2 separate regions of the Homo sapiens genome follow, and region 1 is linked to region 2. Evidence: promoter capture Hi-C in human tissues and cell types (Jung and others, 2019). All regions are on one chromosome and are shown on one strand. The core of a region is centred on a gene start or on the middle of the fragment in contact, and the rest is flanking DNA. Distances in the headings are between cores, read along the strand shown.

Region 1 (2,700 bases), core at 177-2,676, 260 kb after region 2:
GTAAAGCTGCTGCAGTGCAATTTCAATACTCATGCTGCTTAATCTTTTTCCTCTCCCTGTTATATAGTATTCCCCTGTGCATAACCAACCATATTCTTCTCCTTTTGAAAGTATTTGCATTATTTTGAGGTTGAGTGGGAATTATATTGAAAAGGGCAGTCATCCATAACTCTATCTGATAAAGAAATTTTTATAATTCCACAAAATATATTCTAAAAGAAGTGGCATATTCTTATCAGTGCAGTAAAGAAAAAGTATGAAAATATCTCTCGGCTAGGCATGGTGGCTCATGCCTGTAATCCCAGCACTTTGGGAGGCCAAGGCGGGCAGATCATCTGAGGTTGGGGGTTCAAGACCAGCCTGACCAACATGGAGAAACCCCGTCTCTATTAAAAATACAAAATTAGCCGGGCATGGTGGCGCATGCCCGTAATCTCAGCTACTCAGGAAGGCTGAGGCAGGAGAATCGCTTGAACCCGGGAAGTGGAGGTTGCGGTGAGCCGAGATCGCGCCAGTGCACTTTAGCCTGGGCAACAAGAGCGAAACTCGGTCTCAAAAAAAAAAAAAGTATCTCTGCTTTTTAAAAGTCCAGCCTATTCTGAATTTAGCAAAGTGAATATATTAGGGAACACAACCATTAATATCACTTAGCTACCCTTCAAAAGAGATGGGGAAGGCTGGGCACAGTAGCTCACGCCTGTAATCCCAGTGCTTTGGGAGGCGGAGGTGAGAGTACCTTGGCCAACATAGTGAGATGCTTTCTGTACAAACAATTTTTTTTAACTAGCAGGGCATGGTGGTTTGTGCCTTTAGCCCTAGCTACTTGGGAGTCTGAGGCAGGAGCATTGCTTGAGCCCAGGAGTTTGAGAATACAGTAAACTGTATCACACCACTACACTCCAGCCTGGGTGAGAGAACAAAACCCTGTCTGAGAAAAAAAAAAATTAAACTGAGATGCATTTCCCCCCTTTTACACTAAGAAACAGACCCTTCTTTGTTTCTCACTGGCCGCCAAAGGGAATGCTGTATGAGCATTTCAGGTGCAGATGCAGCTGCGATATCAGAAGACCCCGAGTCCTCTCTCTCCAGTTGATGTCGCCATGTAGTGCAAGGGTAATGCTGTTTCTGTGAGTAACGGGAGCTAAGGCGGCTTCTGTGATGAGTGAGGACACCTGTGATACAAATCACCTGTTAAAAGACCCTCTCACTAATTGTAAAAACTAGTGAAAAGACAACTGGAGGTGCACCTGCCTGGCTTTTGTGAGCTGTGCTGAAGTACGTGCATGTACTGCCTCTTCATTAACATCTTCAGATAGTTTGCATTATAGATTTTAGCAATGCTGCACAGGTAACGCTTCTGGCCTGTGGTGAGGTCTGGATGCTAAAAGACAGAATAAGAGGATTTATAGTCTGCATTGTATTAGAGAAGTTGGCAATATTCCTTATCTGAAGAGATGAATGTTCAAGAGAGTTGTGCCAACTGTATTTTACTTTAGCAAATTCAACTACGTTAACTTGACAAAAGAGAAAGAAATGGCCAATTAAACAGTGCAAGTGGCTCTGCTTGCCATTCCACTCGGGTGATTCAGATGCCCTTTGAAGTCGGAGAACCCATTGCTCTAGATGAACAAGGAAAGAGCGAATCTGCTGTTCTGTCAAGTGTTACTTGCTGTGCGCCTCTCAGTGTGGGCATCTTGCCTTCTCAAAATGATTTTTGAGGTATAACATGGTACCTAAAATCAATCCAATTACTCTACTTAGTCTCAACTGAAGAAACATTCTTTTCCAGCACCAGAAGAATAACTGACTGTGTTGGACATTCTGAGGGATAGTATGTTAGTCTCTAAGTAATTTTGACTTGAGATTTTCATTGCACTTGCTGATTTAGAAGTTAATGTTCACTTAAGATGTATGATTCCACTATATATACAAGATTTACTTTACTGAATACATGGTAAGTTCAAAGAAAATGCAAAATGTTAGAAAAATTTACCCTAATTCACATTGCTCTAGAGATACTTTTAGCAGTTACGATCGTTAATGGGATACAGGTAACCATTGTAAAATCCTTATTGCCATTTTCTTTTATTTATTTTTCTTTTTTTAAATCCTACTTGCAAGCTAATTACTGCCATTTTCTTTACCTGCTTTCTTCTTAATTTTGTAGTCCTTGAGTAAAATATGTGTGAAGTTGGGTTTCTATTTTCAAGAAAAGATGGAACTTTTCTTGAGCATCTCTGTGGTTGGGGCATTAAGCTTCCCCTCAGTAAAGATACATTAGATATGAAGTATCATAAAACCATGAAATAACTCTTATGATAAAGAATGTATAATCTTTACATTCATTCATGAGTTTACTCAAAGATATTTATTGACTCCTAGACAATTATACTGCATATGCCTTGTCATCTGCAGTATCTCACCCTCTAAGCAGCTGATCTTCAGTAAAAAGTTCGGCTCTGAATACAAAGAGTATTGGTATTTAAATATGTCCCTGTTAGCATACCTTGAAAAAGGACGCCTCCATCATTGATTTAGAGAGGTGGATTGTTTGATTTTGGGGAGTTTTCCATAACTCTTGCAGCTTAGCTATGTGTGAGTTCACTTTGTATCCATCTTTGATTCTATCTGTAGGCAAAGACATCATGTGAATTTCAGAGGCAAAGATCAGTTCAACAAACTGAATTATTAAGATCTAGA
Region 2 (2,700 bases), core at 147-2,646:
ATGTCACCAACTGGGCTCATTGCCTTGGCCTGACAAATGGCACTTATGTGACTTCTGGTGGACAGAGCTGTAGCAGGGGAAAGTGAGTTAGTGCCTGAGGAAAGTGGATCGATAGGCTGAGTTCTGAAACTCAAGGGCCCTGCACCAGTAGCGAGGGGGCCCAAGTAAGGGGACATGGAGCCCGCACCCTGAGGACATTGCTTTGGAAGAGGATGCCTGGGTGGTGCAATTACCTCGTGGCATACTGAGATGGGGATTCGTGCATCCTGCACGCCTTGGGAAACAAAATGAATTTCTCGGAGAGAGGGGGCTTTGCAAAATGTAAAGCGCTGCAGGAAGCAACGTACATGGAAAGGTCAGGAAAGAGAGCCGATCTGTTTGCTGAGTGTGGGCTGTACTTCCAAACCCAGCCAAAGTCGACGCGCAGCCCCTGGAGGTGGCACAGTTTGGGGGCCCCTTGGATAGGAGTGCCCTCGGGGAGGCTGGGAAGCCAGAGAGGAATGGGCCAAAGTTTCTTCGGGTGTCTGCAGAACCCAGGACCGCCCGCGCAGCTTGCATCTTCTCTTCCCGCCCCCGGCCTGCACGCGTGAAATCTGCAAATTCCCCTTTTAACTGCTGCACGCGCTCGTTCAACTTTGCCCTGGCTAGAATCGGGATAACCGTCCCGATGATTACATAACTTTCCGAGTTCAGGGAAGATAAATCCAAGGGACAGAAATGATAAAATTTTCTTTGAGTATGGATTTTTTACCCCTAAAGTTACAGAAGTGCACAAAAAATATATATACAAATACCCATATACCCACCACTCACAATGAGTTAACTGTTACATTTTGACTTATCTGAAAGAGGGTTTTTTCTTTTTAGTTACCAAATAAACCTTTCTCTTGTCCCAAGTTCCAGTATATCTGAATCCAAAATAAGTCAACCTTCTTTTCTTTATTATTCTTTTCCATCCTCACCCCAGATTTATCTTAAAGGGTAAGTTCCAGGACCCCCGAAATCCCTCGGTGAGCTCCCACCTGTCCAGGTCTGCAAACATCTAGACTCAATGCACAAGATCCGGCGATGGCCGCAACCGGCGGTGTGCACAGCTGCATTTCCTCCCCCAGCCCCAACTCCCGCGTGCAACTTTGCAACTCTCGCTCGGGCCCGGCATTGGGGGCGGGCCTATTTACTCGGCCCGTTTGGCGGAAGGATCCCATGCGGGGACGCGGTTGCGCTCAGCCATCTGCGCCCCGCCCAGCGCCCGGGCCCCGCCCCCTCCAGCGCCCGGGCCCCGCCCCCTCCCGCGCCCCCTATGGCCCATAAAGAAGTCCCGGCCGGGCCGCTGCACTCCCCGCGCGCATCCGTGCGCCGCCCGAGGCTGTCTAAGGAGTCGGCGGCCATTTTGTTCTTCTCGTGGTTCCAGTGGGGAGAGAAGGAGGAAGTAGGGAGCGGGGTGGCAGGGGGGGGACCCGCCGCGGCTGCTGCCACCGCCGCCACCACCGCCTCTGCTCGTGGCGTGGGAAAGGAGGTGTGAGTCCCGGGCGCGAGCCGGCGGCGGCGCCGCTGCGGGAGGGTCGGCGGTGGGAAGGCGATGGCGGATTTAGATAAACTCAACATCGACAGCATTATCCAACGGCTGCTGGAAGGTAAGGGGGGCGGCGGGCGGCTGAAGGGGGAGGCGGGCCTGAGGGCGGCAGGCGGCCCCGGGGGCTCGAGGGAGGGGAGTTGGGAGGCCGGTTGGGCTTGCAGCACCGTGGGGAGTGAGCTCCTCGAGTTGGCCCACGGGCCGGGGACTGCAGCCGGAGGGAGGCCAGCCCGGGATTCCCAACTTGTCGCCAGCTGCGGACCCTCCAGGCTCCGCTCATTCATTGCACGAGGATGCAGGCTTCCTCCCGGCCGTGGAATTTGAAAACTCCGCTCCCCACCCCCACGTTTCCCGCCCCTACCCGTTTGCCCCCGCGCACTGGACGGGTCTTTGGAGCGATGGTTGGGGATCCCAGTCCAGCCTCCTGGACGACGTGTGCCGTGCTGTGCGAGATGGACTTTTCGGTGCTCGTCCTCTCGGAAGGCAGTTTGATGAGGGCATGAGTTCCGCCGGGTTTGGGGGCTCTTTTCCTGCTTGCTTTTATTTTTATTTTTCGTGGTTCTGGGGTCTTGGGGGGCCCATTTCTTGTTACTTGGTAACAAGCGTTCATGTCTCAAGAGGTGTGAGAACCTGTCTTCGCCTGCCCTCCAAATCCTTTTAAGTTGTTCTAATCTTGGAGAGGTCTCCGCGCTCTTTTCCTGAGCGTGCATCTGAAGAGGAAGCCAACGAGGCTGACGCTATCATTATCTTTCCAATGTGCCAGGCTCTGTCTTAAGCACTTTGCGTCCATGAATTATTACTGTAATCATAACTGACGCTTCTAAAGCGCTTACTGTGTGTCAGGCATTCTTTGAGCACTTAAGACAGATTTCATTTAATTCTCCCACCCATTGCAAGATATTTGCAATTTTTTTTGTTTTTGTTATTTTACAGAAGAAACTGAGATGAAGTCACTTAACCAAGGTCACACAGTTAGTGACAGTTGGATTTCAAATCCACATAGCCGGGAGCTAGAACCCTCTACAGACAACACTGTCACCTTATGTAGGAAGGAAGGTGGCCAGTGGTTAAGTAAAGGTTAATAGAAAGCTTTAAATTTCGGCTCATCTAAGACTTGTGAGGTGCCT

What was found. The method cuts DNA at HindIII sites, captures the fragments that hold promoters and counts their contacts. A contact is called where the count stands out against the background at its distance.
Region 1: a fragment that was not itself captured here is called in contact with the fragment with the promoter of PPP1CC in region 2 in 1 of the 25 tissues and cell types used here (small bowel).

What each region holds. Positions count from the first base shown.
Region 1 is chr12:110,485,006-110,487,705 of GRCh38, reverse strand. It overlaps FAM216A (family with sequence similarity 216 member A), which reads right to left. Exons shown (of 7, transcript NM_013300.3): 3 at 2,507-2,628; 4 at 1,252-1,381; 5 at 989-1,172. All of the region lies in intron 1 of LOC124903016 (a long non-coding RNA gene), which reads left to right. Among named protein-coding and RNA genes, the nearest start is that of VPS29, 16 kb to the left of the region's middle. The HindIII fragment of the contact is 3,710 bases long and covers 1-2,700 here.
Region 2 is chr12:110,741,587-110,744,286 of GRCh38, reverse strand. It overlaps PPP1CC (protein phosphatase 1 catalytic subunit gamma), which reads left to right and starts at 1,396. Exons shown (of 7, transcript NM_002710.4): 1 at 1,396-1,634. The coding sequence starts at 1,580. RefSeq lists enhancers at 1-401, 1,163-1,671 and silencers at 1,166-1,305, 1,466-1,525. The HindIII fragment of the contact is 6,938 bases long and covers 1-2,700 here.